Linked DNA regions of Homo sapiens: regions 1, 3, 4 and 5 are each linked to region 2. Evidence: promoter capture Hi-C in 16 types of primary human blood cells and fetal thymus (Javierre and others, 2016). All regions are on one chromosome and are shown on one strand. The core of a region is centred on a gene start or on the middle of the fragment in contact, and the rest is flanking DNA. Distances in the headings are between cores, read along the strand shown.

Region 1 (2,700 bases), core at 179-2,678, 580 kb before region 2:
AATACTGCTCCAATAAACATGGAGTGCAGATATCTCTTCAATATACTGATTACCTTTCTTTTGGATGTATGCCTAGCAGTAGAATTGCTGAATCATGTGGTAACTCTGTTTTTAGTTTTTTGAGGAACCTCCAAACTGTCCTTTATGGTGGTTGTACTAATTCACATTCCCACTAGCAGTGTAGGAGGGCTCCCTTTTCTCCACATTCTGGCATAATTTGGTATTGCCTTTCTTTTATATGAAAGTCATTTTGCCTGGGGTGAGATGATATCTCACTGTAGTTTTAATTTACACATTTCTTATGATCAACATGTTGAGCACCTTTTCATATACCTGTTTGCCATTTGTATGTCTTCTTTTGAGAAATGTCTATTCAACTCTCACCCATTTTTAAATTGGATTAATACATTTTTTCCTATAGAGTTGTTTGAGCTCCTTATATATTCTGGTTATTAATCCCTTGTCAGATGAGTAGTTTGAAAATTTTTTCTTTCATTCTGTGGGTTTTCTCTTCACTTTATTGTTTCCTATGCTATGCAGAAGCTTTTTAAATTGATGTGATCTTATTTGTCCATTTTTGCTTCAGTTGCCTGTGCTTGTTGTGTATTTTTACATTTCAAATTATTGTGAGCCTTGGGAGTAATATCTTATCTCCCATTATTTAAAATTCATGACCAACGTAACCCTGATTTCACAATCAAACAAGAAGCAAGCAAAAAGGAACTTAAAAAAAAACCCTCTACACTTTAACTTCATACCTTCACTTTGTAACTTTTTGTTGTTTCAGTTTATATCTTATTGTACTGTCTATGTCTTACAAAGTTGTTGTAGATATCATTTTTGATTGGTTCATCTTTTCATCTTTCTACTTAAGATATGAGTAGTTTACACACCACAATTACAGTATTGTAATAGTCTGTCTTTTCCTGTGTACTTACCATTACCAGAGAGATTTGTACCTTCAGATGCTCATTAATACTTTTTTTCTCTCATGTTGAAGAACTCTCTCTAGCATTTCTTGTAAGACAGGTCTGGTGTTGATGAAATCCCTCAGCTTTTCTTTATCTGGAAAAGTCTATATTTATAAAGAATTAATACAGAGAAGGAAAGGAAGTTAATAAAGCGTGTTTTATTGAGTAAGCTACTACAGAGGGCAAATCCAACCTAATCCTGTGGCTCACTTCTGAGAAAGTATATAAAATGCACACCCTTGAGAATCATTCTTGCCTGTGAGAGAGGAGACAGAACTTGATTTTCACCAGGGTTGTTCGGGGGCTTCTCTGCTGGCGATTTTTATTCTCTGGCACTTCTAGTCTGTGTACACATAGACAGAGTGACCTTCTATGGAGATTGAAGGAATGTGGTTGCTGCTCAGAGTGCCGGCTGGAAATTCATGTGTAATTAGAAACCTCAACTGGCAACATGCGGCGTTTTTTTTGTGTGTGGGTGTCTTCATCCAAATAAGTCAATTGTAAGACATGAGATTATTGAGATTATTAAGAAATGTGCTTACAGATGTCCTATTAGATGACATTGTGGAAATACTGTTAATTGTATTTGTGTGATAAGGTATTGTGGTTAAGTACAAAGGAAGAAACTATGAATTCAAGATTAGGTATAATGAAGAAGTGATAAGATGTCTAAACAAATGGCCAGGCACGGTGATTCACGCCTGTAATCCCAACACTTTGGGAGGCCAAGGCAGGCAGATCACAATGTCAGGAGTTCAAGACCAGCCGGACCAACAAGGTGAAACCCATCTCTACTAAAAATACAAAAATTAGCCAGACATGGTGGCACACACCTATAATCAGCTACTCAGGACGCTGAGGCAGGAGAATCGCTTGAACCCGGGAGGCAGAGGTTGCAGTGAGCTGAGATCGTACCACTGCACTGGGAAACAGAGCAGGACTCCATCTCAAAACAAAACAAAACTCCACAAACATTAAATGCATTTAGATTTGTTGGGTGGATAAATATGAAACAAGATTTTTTTGATCCTTGGTAGTTCCTTAATTTTTTTTTCTTTGATGTGGTGCTCTATTTTTCAAAAATTAAAAATTTTTAAAAGAAATATGGGTATTTCAGCAAAAGAAAAAAAGGGAGTGACAGAGGGAGGAAGGGAGGAAGAAACGGAGGAAAAAGAGAAACACTCCCCGAGATGCTTTCTTGCACATTATATTTTTCACTGTGGCTGTTCAATGGAGATGTCCCGAGGAAACCCAGGCAGGGACTCTGTCTTCCTAGGTCCCTGAAGCTGCACCAACAAGCAGTACATGTCCACACTTCCAACACTGCTACAAAAACAAGAAGTAAGCTTCATTTGGATGTAAGACATTATACATTATTGTGACTAATTTTTATTACAATTAATCGGCCTCAAATAATACCACTTTTTGAACAAATGTAAATCTACTTAATTTTAATAAAATTATTGAGAAAATATTACTTATAGGGAGATATATTAAATTTAGTTCCTACTGAACAATGTACAAAAATCAACCTCAACTGTATTAAAAACACATATTGAAAACACAACAAATATTTGTTTTAAATTATAGGCAAATGTTCCCGAGCAGACATCAATTTCTTAAGCAAGTCATATAAAGTAATAACTATAAATACAATCATTGACAAATTTGACCAAGTTAAAAATTTTAAACTTTGTCCATTGATAGATACCTCAAATAGGTGGAAATT
Region 2 (2,700 bases), core at 138-2,637:
CCAAGCACTAAGGCCAGGCCTTTCTCTGCACTCCATCAGCACTTCAGACACACAACTCTTTTGGAACTTGTTACATTACCCTGCAATGATTTGTTGACAAACTTGTTCTCCTTTCCTGCCCCAGCAGACTGGGGACAGAGTAAGTCTAAGCCCTCATTCATCCAACACTCTTCAGGGAGGCTGGAATCTGGGCTCTCCTTCTCTCCCTGCTCTCAGTGCTCTCACCTGTATTCTAGGATCCAGTTCTTCCTCCTCTCTTGGGGACAATTTGGCCTCACTGCTGCTGCTTCCACCTCCTCCAGGCTCTTCTGCGACTGGGCTCCTAGGGACTTCATCCTCTACAACTTCAGGCCGCAGCTCCCCCTGTGGGGTCTCCCGCCCTCCTGGAACCTGTCTGAGCTCAGCCATGCTGACAGGGGGAGGGCAGAGCCCTATGCACAAGAGAGGACTGACATGCTGGGACCAGGGCCCCAGCTTGGGGCTTCCTGGGCTCTAGATGGCCAGGAGAAGAGTTTCTCTTCTCAAAAGGCAGAAAAGGTGGGCACAGGAAGAACCTCACACTAGGTTAGAGGTTGAGATTCAAGTTGTCAGTGGGGTTCCTAGAGCTGAAGCCTTGTCTGTGCAAAAGTTCTTCCCTTCCCGCCACAGGGAGTCCACTGTGACAAACCCGGAGCAACAGCTCCAAGGCAGGGGGCAAAGGGGGCTTGGATCCTGGACCGAGGCCTGCTAGGAGGAGCACCATTCGGGAGGGTGGAGGCAGGCGCCTCCAGGCTGTGGTGGCAGCTGGAGAGAGAAGGCTGGGCCCGAGCTGAGGCTGTAGGATGAGCGTCTCTGGGGAGCTGCAGAGAAACAAAGGCCAAGTATATGGTCATGTCAGCATCAAAACCGCAGCCACCAGCCCCTTCCAACTCTACAGCCTCCCAAAAACTACACTCTCACCACGCCCCCACCCATGTATTCCGACCAGTCCCTACCTCAACTTCTCTCCTTAGCCCTCAAGGACTTTAGATTCTACTCTTCCCCCGTCCCAGCTCCTCTCGACCCAGGCCCTCCTCAACCAGCGCCTTCGAGACTTTCCTCTGCACCCCTAGGCTCTCCTCCATCTCCTGTGGTCTCCCGCTCGTCCCACTCCACCCCAGCCCGGCTTTGCGATTCACCTTGTAACCCCGAGCCCCACCCCACCTTCTCTGTCCAACCCGAGACATCTAAGCCTCCCGTCTCCAATTCCACACTCTTCCGCAATCCCAAGGACCCTACTCCCGTCCATTCTACCCAGCCATGCGCAAAAGCCCCCCGCACAGCCTTACCTCAGTTTACCTTCCCGTCCGCGGAGCTTCTATGCTGCAAACAATCTCCCCCCCTCCCTCCCCGCAACAAGCCGATCCAACCAAAAACGACCAGGCAGACCAGAAGCGGAAATACATCATCGGTGAACAACGCTCTCCCTCCCACGCTCTCTCTCAAGCCGGGCCTCCTCGGGAGGCCTCACACTCCCCCGCCCTGCCTTCAGTTTCCGTACAAAATGGTGCCCCACGTTGCTCAGGCTAGCCGTAGGTTGCCTCCAGACCATACTCCACCAAGGCTGAATGAAAGAAAAACATGAGAATGTGGTGCTGAAGAAAATTAGGGCGCGGGACGGAAATCGAGAGTAACTGGTGAGAAGAGGAATACTAGATATAAAACGGAGATAATAGCCTCAGAGTGAGTAGTGCCATCTTGCTTTACGGAGCTGCGGCGGCGGCTGCCGGAAAGCCACTTCCGGCCTGCTCCACGGAGGCGGGCGCGACGCCGAAAGTGAGCTGGTAAACTTCCGGCAGTGGCTCCGGGGGCAACTCGAGTCCGGACGCTGGCGGGCTTCGCGGGCGAAGGCAAAGTCGATTTCCAAAAGTGACTTTCCTCACTCCCGTGAAGTCGGCGGAACCCTCCACTAACGGCGTCTGAGCGGACGGCTCCGATGTGTAAATCCCACTCCTCGAGGCCTCTGGACCTTGCACCTTGAACGACGTTTTGGTGGGGTCACCAATTGCTCCGTGAATACTAACCAGGAACTTAGTCAACATTAACTCAGTTAATTCACTCGTGCACCCAGGGTCAGATGCCCTCGATGAGCAGGAGTTTGTTACATGGCATTGTGTATCGTTACCTAGGTCCCTGAGCGAGCGCCTGCTTGTCACCTCTAGGTGTCGCTTGGTGAGGGGAGGGCCTAGGCCTAAGGGGAAGGGCTTCATTCAGGGTTGGATGTTTTGTTTTTACAAAAGGCGTAACTTCCTCAGAGTCAACTCAAAACTTTGCCCTGCAGATGGAAAAGGCAAATGGGCTGAATTCCCCTCCTTTTTGGATCCTGTCAAAGACAACCCAGCTAGACATTGAAGCAGTGAAAAAGACTTTTTTCAGTAACTACTTACAGAAAGGAAAAGAACTGACCTCTGTTCCGATTTGTACAGAAGTGACTGGGCATTTCAAAGGGAGAATGAAGGAAGGAAGGTGATCAGGGCTCAATAGTGTTGGAGAAGTGAAAAATTACAGATTTGATTGGCATAGATGCGATTCGGCCAGATGTGTCTGCTAGCTAGCAGCTATAGAAGTTAGAGTGCTTTTTTATGTATTTATTTATTTTGAGACGGAGTTTAACTCTTGTTGCCCAGGCTGGAGTGCAATGGCGCGATCTTGGCTCACTGCAACCTCCGCCCCACCCCCACC
Region 3 (2,700 bases), core at 195-2,694, 900 kb before region 2:
GGTAGAACAGGTAACAGAGTTAAATAGCCTGCTAACTCCCACACAAAAGACATTTCCCTAATTTCTAGAAATCATCTCAGTTTTTTTCAATCACCTGCACTATAATAAGAAAATCGTTTTCTTTTTTCTGACAGCATTAAGTGCATAATAAGAGAGAATTCAGTTCTATCATCAGTAACAGAGACCTGGTCAGTAGGGACTTCAACATTAAACAAGGATTTAAAAAGTTAATTGATGCACAATTCTTGTACAAATTTATGGGGTACAGAGTGATATTTGGATACATACAAAGTTTAATGATCAAATCAGGGTTATTAGCATATTAATCACCTTAAACATTTAGGGGGTGTGTGTGTGTGTGTGTGTGTTGGGAACATTGAAAATCCTTTCTTCTAGCTATTTGAAAAGATAGAAAAAATTATCATTAACGATAATCATCCTAGAGTGCTATAGAACACTAGAACTTATTCTTCCAACATAGTTATAAATTTGTACTCATTGAGCAACTTCTCTCTCTTCTCTTAGGCCCTCGTGTTTCCCAGCCTCGAGTAAATACCATTCTACTCTCTACCTCTATGAGATCAGGTTTTTTAACCTTCTGTATATGAATGAGAACATGTAGTATACATCCTTCTGTGCCCTGGTTTATTGAACTCAACATAATGTCATCCAGGCTCATCCATGTTGCCACCAACTACAAGATTTTATTCTTTTTATGACTGAATAGTATTCCATTGTGTATACATACCACATTTTCTTTAACTATTCATTGGTTGATGAACATGTAGTTGATTCCATATCTTGGATATTGTGAACAGTGTGGCACTAAACATTGAGGTACAGATGTCCCTTCAATAGGCTAATTTCCTTTCCTTTGGATATATGCCCAGTAGTTGAATTGCTGGATCATATGATAGATCTATATTTTTAGTTTCATAGTGTTCTTTATAATAGCTATACTAATTTACATTCCCATCAACACTGTATAAGATGTCTCTTTCTCTACATCCTCACCAGCATTTGTTATTTTTTGTCTTTTTTGATAATGACCACTCTAATTGCAGTGAAATTATATGTCATTTTGGTTTTGATTTATATTTCCCTTATGATTAGTGATGTTGAACATTTTTTCAAATATTTGGCTATTTTTATGTCTTCTTCTGAGAAATGGGTATTTAGATCATTTACCTATTTTCAATTGGATTATGGGGTTTTATTTGCTATTGAGTTCCTCGCATATACTATATATTAATCTTTTGTCAGAAGAATAATTTGCAAATATTTTCTTCAATTTTGCAGGGTGTTTTTTCATTGAGATGAATGTTTTCTTTTCTGTGCAGAAGGTGTTTAGTTTAATGTAGCCCCATTTGTGTGTTTCTATCTTGTTGCCTGTGCCCTTGAAGTCTTAGAGATAAAATCTTTTCTGAGACCGATGTTGAAGCATTTCCCTTAAAACAAGCATCATTTTTAATTTCTTCATAAGAAGCAAGTGTTGATTTTGGCCAATCAGGGCAGCTTTTGTGATTGGTGATCAACAGGAAATTGCCTGGTAGCAGACAGTCTTCGGCTCCTTAATCCCTTGAGTTTTGTCCCTATGAAATGGTTACAGGAACATTTCAGGAACATACATCATCATATCCATATGCTAAAGAAACAGGATGGGCCGGGCGCGGTGCCTCACGCCTGTAATCCCAGCACTTTGGGAGGCCGAGGCGGGCGGATCACGAGGTCAGGAGATCGAGACCATCCTGGCTAACACGGTGAAATCCCGTCTCTACTAAAAATAAAAAAAATTATCCGGGCGTGGTCGTGGGCGCCTGTAGTCCCAGCTCCTTGGGAGACAGTAATTATAGGAATCCCTTAAATCAGGTGGCAGTAACAAGGAGAAGACATGTGGTCACTCACTCCGTAATGATTGTATGGAATTGAAAAGTTAGAAGGGCCAAAAAAAATGGTGAATTAAAACATCAAATGGCTGGCATAAAATGAGATTGTAAGCAGCTCAGATTATTTGATTTCAAAGTCTTCATTTGCTCTTTCACACTCATTTTCATGTGCGCATGTGGGTGAGGAAGCCGACCTAAACATTCTCATTCAGTGTGGTGAGTTTCTTTCTCCCTAGCTTAATGAGTCAATTTTCTGGACAGTGAGTACAAAATATACTTCTGATTCACGCATTATATTGTACTTTGCTTTACATAGCTACATTCTATCATATCCTGAATCTCTCTTCTTTCATTCCTTTCCTTCCTGCCCCTCTTTTCCTCTCCCTAGCTATCTCATTTTCTCCCTCCCCTGGTATATAACCCCTTACATGTGTATTTAAGAAACAAAAAAGAGTAAGAATATAGTAATTATAGGAATACTAATATAGTAATAATAGTAGTAGCAATAATAATCATCCTGAGTATTGACTGTGTGCCAGGCTCTATTCCCCCCCTTCACTCGGTGTGTGTGTGTGTGTGTGTGTGTGTGTGTGTTTGCAGTGGGGGTATTTAATGAGTCTCATCTAATATTCAAAACAACTTTATCAGGCAGGTACTGTCATGATCTTCATTTCATAGAAATTCATTTCAGACATAATTTAATGGATATTTCAGATATAATTTCATATCTGGTGTTTCATGTAAGACAAAAAAATGAAATATTTTTGGGATATTGCATTTCCATTAAATTTTCCTGTTTATCTCTTCAAAGCAG
Region 4 (2,700 bases), core at 72-2,571, 970 kb before region 2:
CAACCCAATAGTCCTATAGACACACACACACACACACACACACACACACACACAGAGAGAGAGAGAGAGAGAGAGAGAGAGAGAGAGAGAGAGAATTTGACCCTTCTGGTCTTAGAGCTTGAAACTTACTTTTGTTTTATCTGAGTTCCTTCCTCAGGAAAGGACCACCAGCCCTCTTGAAAAGTAAAGTAACAAAGAACTGAAACTTACCGGATCACCCCAGGTCATCTCAACCAGTTAATGAGATGCCAGTCCAGTCCGCTTATTCAACATGATTGCTTCCTTACCCCTCCCTAGTTCCTCTTTTTCCACACAGTGTGCTATTTCTTCCCTGCCTCTATATAAGCCTCTAATTTTAGTCAGTCAGGGAGATGGATTTGAAACTGAGCTCCTATCTCCTCTGCTGCAGCACCTGATTAAAAGCTTCTTCTTTGGCAATAATCGTTGTCTCAGTGATTGGCTTTCTGTGTGGAGAGCAGCAGGACCTAGACCGAACTCCTGGTTTTTGGTAACAAATTGGGCTGATTTGGGGGCTATGGAGCTAGGAGATTGTGAATCCCCAAAGCTGAGGCAAAGGGTTTGGCCATGGAGAGCTGAGAAACTCTGTGAAAAGGGTTCAAAGTAGGGAAGAAAATATTGCTGTCCTGAAGAAATGGTTTCAGGAGCCCAAAGCCATGATACCAAAGAAATTACAAAAAAGAGCAGGGAGGAATAATGGTCAGATGACGGCAGATCCCATATTTTAAAGATGTCACAGAAGGCAGGACACAACTGAAGAGGAATATTAGAGAAGGAGGATGGTTGCAGGTGGTATTAGCTAAAAGATTTGCAACTCTGCAACCTGTAAATGAGTCACAGGGTGGAGTTAGCCTATAAATTAAGGAGTGGGGTGCATTAGAATTTGGTCGTATTGGCATAAACCAAGAGGTGCTTTATTTACGCCAAAAGAAAGCTCATGAGAAAATACAAATTTAAGTTAGAGTATTCCCATTAAACCAGAAACTGCCTGGCGAGGCACTCCACATAGCATTTGTAAATACAATGACATCTGGATATAATCCAGTCCACAACTTACCTGCATGGACGTGCTGTAAGGGAAATGTGTGTTTCTAAGAACAATGGTACCGATGTCATTCCTAGTCAACCAGTGTCAGAGACAAAACAGTTTAAGCTCAGCAACTCTAGGACCAGCAGGGGAAGAAGTGAGCTCGCCCACTCCGTCACACCCTACTGAAAACCACAGTGACCCCCAACGTCAGAAGCCAGGGGCCTTTCCTTAGGATCACAGGCACTAGGAAATCTGAATTTAAGTGAGCCTAGTTATCAACTGGCCCATATATTTGAGTAAATGGATTGTTTTACTGTGTCTCGTTATGCCTGCAAAATAGAAAAATGCTCCAGCATCTGCCAGAGTTATGGAGAGCCAGGGCAAGATCATATATGTAAAATGCAGAAAAACATGGATTTGACATTTGACATAATATAATCATCTTTGAACTTCCCTCTTTCATTAGCTCCTATGATAAACTGTCCTAATTCTGTTCATTTACTTATTAACTTGTTTAATCAGTTAGTATGTGTGGAGTGTCCATTTGTGCCAGTTACTCTTCAAGGTCCTGGGGATAGATAGAGCAGTGAACAAAATAGAAAAAAATCTCTCTTCCTAATGTAGCTTACCTTTTGACTCACCATCCTTCCATTCACTTCACTATTTCATTTCCTTTTCTTCAATTAAATATATTTGCTACATGGCCGGGCGAGGTGGCTCACACTTGTAATCCCAGCACTTTGGGAGGCCAAGGTGGGGAGATTGTTTGAACCCAGGAGTTTGAGACCAGCCTGGGCAACAGGGCGAAACTCTGTCTCTACAAAAAATACAAAAATTAGCTGGGCGTGGTGGCGGGCACCTGTAGTCGCAGGTACTTGGGAGGCTGAGGTGAGAAGATCACTTGAGCCTGAAAGGTAGAGGCTACAGTGAGTCAGGTTGTGGCACTACACTATAGCCTGGGCAGCAGAGCAAGACCCTGTCTCAATATATATACGTGTGTGTGTGTGTGTGTGTGTGTGTGTGTGTGTATTTCCAACATGCCAGGACCTATATTAAGTGTCTACTATCTATTAGCTCGTTTAATACTCTGAAAGGCCTTATATGAATGACACTAACACCTCTTCACTGCACGTCAGAAGAAATGCAGGGCAGAAACGCGGCACAGCTTGCCTCAAGCTTCTCAGCAAGTGCCACAGCCCTTAGTCCGGAGCCAGAGTCTGTTTTTCTTTGCTAAGCCTTCTGCTCTTTAGCTTTTTTCTCTAATGCCACATCTTTCGTGTTTTGCTAATACAGATCCATGTGTGTTCTCCAAGAATCTATTCGCTTTAATTGCGCACTTAACCTTTAGGCCTCAAGATCCTCTGCTCTGCCTGTCGCCAGAGATCCAGCCCAAGAGTTTGTCCTTATAATGAAGACCCACAAACCCCAGAGGATCCCCAAGGACCTGAGTCATCTGGCCCCGCCTCTTGCTGCAGCCTTATCTGCTGCCACCATATTCTGGCCCAGCTTGCCAGCCTGCCTGGCTTCTCACTGTCATCTGGGTATGTCTTGCTCCCACCTGCTGAAGTTTACCTTGTACCTTTCATGGCTTCTGGGGGCACGGCCTTGCGGAGCCCCCCTTCCCGCTGGCCAGCTTGTGTTCACCTATCAGA
Region 5 (2,700 bases), core at 197-2,696, 910 kb before region 2:
CTTTATTTCCTTCTTCTGCCTGATTGCCCTGGCCAGAACTTCCAACACTATGTTGAATAGGAGTAGTGAGAGAGGGCATCCCTGTCTTGTGCCAGTTTTCAAAGGGAATGCTTCCAGTTTTTGCCCATTCAGTATGATATTGGCTGTGGGTTTGTCATAGATAGCTCTTATTATTTTGAGATACGTCCCATCAATACCTAATTTATTGAGAGTTTTTAGCATGAAGGATTGTTGAATTTCGTCAAAGGCCTTTTCTGCATCTATTGAGATAATCACCTTTCTCTCCTCCCCTGGATATTATGAATCACATCACAAGGAGGTGTACCCCCTAATGATATGGGGAGTAATATCATGTCTCTCCCACTGGATATTATGAACCATATCACAGGGAGGTGGACACCCCCGCAATATGGGGAGTAATATAATTCTTCTTCCCTCTCTAGATATTACAATCTATATCACAGGGGTGTGTACGCCCCCACGATATAAGGAGAAATATCACCTTTCTCTCCCTCACTGGATATTATGAAACATATCACAGTAGGTGATGAGGAAAGAGGATGATATTACCTCCAATATTGTGGGGAGTGTACATACCCCCTTGTGATATTGTTTCTAATATCCAGGGAAAGAGGATTATATTACTCTCAATATTGCAGGGGGCTGTACAACCACCCTCTGATATTTTCCTAACATCCGGCGGGGGGGCGGGGGGCGGAAGACGATGATATCCAGAGGGGGAGATGATGATATTACTCTTAATATCGCAAGGGGTGTACACCCCCCTGTGATATTGTTTGTAATATCCAAGGTGGGGAGACGATGACATTAGTCCTGATATCACAGGGGGTGTACACCCTCCTGTGATAGTGTTGGTAATATTAAGGGTGGGAGAGTATAATATTATTTGCAATATTGCAGGGGATATACACCCCCCTGTGATATTGTCCGTAATATACAGAAGGAAAGAGGATGATATTATTCCCAATATCCCAGGGAGTGTACACCTTCATTTAATGTTGTTCTTAATATCCAGGGTAGGAGAAGATGACATTACTCTTAATATCAGGGGCTGTACACCCCCCTCTGACATTGTTCGTAATATTCATGGAGAAAGAGGATGATATTACTCCCAATATCCTGAACACCCCATGTGTACACCACCCTCTTGTATCGTTCGTAATATCCAGCAGGGGAGAGGTTGGTATTACTCTCAGTATCGCAGAAGGTGTATGCCCTGCTGTGATATTGTTTGTAATATTCAGGGAAAGAGAGGATGATACTACTTCCAGTCTCGCGGAGCATGTACACCCCCTGTGATATTGTACCTAATATCCAAAGAATGAGAGGATATTATTCCTAGTATCACAGGCTGTGTACATTCCTCCTGTGATATTGTTTTTAATATCCAGGGGGCGAGAGGATGATATTACCCCAATATTGCAGAAGGGTATACACACCCCGCGATATGGGGAGTAATATCACCCTTCTCTCCCCCCTGGATATTACAAACAATATTTATTGGGATATTGTTTCTAATATCCAGGCGAAAAAACAATAATACTTCCAATATTGCAGGGGGTGTACACCGCTCCTATGACAGTATTCCTAATATCCACGGGGGGAGAGGATGATATTATTGCCAATATCGCAGGAGCTGTACACTCCCCCTCTTATATTGTTCCTTATAACCGGGGGGGACGGGATGATATTAGTCCCAATGTCGCAGAGGGTGTACACCGCCTCTGTAATATCCACGGGGGAAAAGGATGATACAATTCCCACTATCGAAGGGGGTGTACCCCCCTGTTGTATTGTTCCTGATATCCAGGGCGTGAGGAAATGATATCACTCTTAATATCGCAGGGTGTGTACACCCTCACGTTGATAATGTTCGCAATATCCAGGGGAAGGGAGGATAATATTATTCCCAATATTGCAGGGGCTGTACGTCTCCCCTGTGATGATGTTCCTAATATCCAGGAGGGTAGAGGATGATATTACTGTAATATCGCAAAAGGTGTACAACCCCTCTGTGATATTGTTTCTAATATCCAGATGGAAAGGGGATGATATTACAACACCCTGTGATATTATTTCTTTTTCTTTCTTCTTTTTTTTTTGACAGAGTCTCACTCTGTGGCCCAGGCTGGAGTGCAGTGGTGCGATCTGGGCTCACTGCAAGCTCCGCCTCCCGGGTTCACGCCATTCTCCTGCCTCAACCTCCCAATTAGCTGGGACTGCAGGTGCCCACCACCGCGCCCAGCTAATTTTTTGTATTTTTTTTTAGTAGAGACGGGGTTTCACCCTGTTAGCCAGGATGGTCTGTATCTCCTGACTTCGTGATCTGCCCGCCTCGGCCTCCCAAAGTGCTGGGATTACAGGCGTGAGCCACTGCACCCGGCCAAAGAATACATTTTAAATTAGAAGAAATCATGTAAGTGCTATTCTTGAAGTTTCTTATTTTAATTTGTGATTTAATTAATTCAGTCTCATAAATAAACTCAATGAGGAAGGAAGAATGTGGAACTGACAATGTAAGTTGCTTACATAAATCGCCTCATATGGCTTCAGACTGAGTCTCTAAATTGAGAAGATCTTAATGCGTGACAATTAGCTACATGGTAGAGAAGAAACTACTCAATGAAAATTTATTTCTATTTCTTGAGCCAAAATTTGAATGATTGTCCTTATTTATGG

The links. Contacts are between HindIII fragments. The CHiCAGO score rates a contact against its expected background, and 5 or more counts as called.
Region 1: a contact is called between a fragment that was not itself captured here and the fragment with the promoter of SH3BP5L in region 2, in 1 of 17 cell types (monocytes). The highest score is 9.0, in monocytes.
Region 3: a fragment that was not itself captured here is called in contact with the fragment with the promoter of SH3BP5L in region 2 in 1 of 17 cell types (megakaryocytes); the score reaches 7.1 in megakaryocytes.
Region 4: a contact is called between a fragment that was not itself captured here and the fragment with the promoter of SH3BP5L in region 2, in 1 of 17 cell types (megakaryocytes). The highest score is 5.6, in megakaryocytes.
Region 5: a contact is called between a fragment that was not itself captured here and the fragment with the promoter of SH3BP5L in region 2, in 2 of 17 cell types (megakaryocytes and erythroblasts). The highest score is 7.1, in megakaryocytes.

What each region holds. Positions count from the first base shown.
Region 1 is chr1:248,246,373-248,249,072 of GRCh38, forward strand. No RefSeq gene overlaps it. Among named protein-coding and RNA genes, the nearest start is that of OR2M4, 16 kb to the left of the region's middle. The HindIII fragment of the contact is 1,774 bases long and covers 542-2,315 here.
Region 2 is chr1:248,824,528-248,827,227 of GRCh38, forward strand. SH3BP5L (SH3 binding domain protein 5 like) reads right to left here and starts at 1,388. Exons shown (of 7, transcript NM_030645.3): 1 at 1,308-1,388; 2 at 226-839. The coding sequence starts at 408. MIR3124 (microRNA 3124) reads left to right here and starts at 1,850; the gene lies at 1,850-1,916. RefSeq lists enhancers at 1,060-1,119, 1,182-1,733, 1,490-1,749, 1,734-2,284, 1,860-1,909 and 1 more. The HindIII fragment of the contact is 10,505 bases long and covers 1-2,700 here.
Region 3 is chr1:247,927,152-247,929,851 of GRCh38, forward strand. The region is part of intron 1 of OR2AJ1 (olfactory receptor family 2 subfamily AJ member 1); the gene reads left to right. Among named protein-coding and RNA genes, the nearest start is that of OR2AJ1, 3.6 kb to the left of the region's middle. The HindIII fragment of the contact is 3,035 bases long and covers 1-2,700 here.
Region 4 is chr1:247,852,866-247,855,565 of GRCh38, forward strand. No RefSeq gene overlaps it. Among named protein-coding and RNA genes, the nearest start is that of TRIM58, 3.0 kb to the right of the region's middle. RefSeq lists a cis regulatory region at 2,235-2,700. The HindIII fragment of the contact is 1,801 bases long and covers 422-2,222 here.
Region 5 is chr1:247,909,854-247,912,553 of GRCh38, forward strand. No RefSeq gene overlaps it. Among named protein-coding and RNA genes, the nearest start is that of OR2T8, 9.0 kb to the right of the region's middle. The HindIII fragment of the contact is 6,306 bases long and covers 1-2,700 here.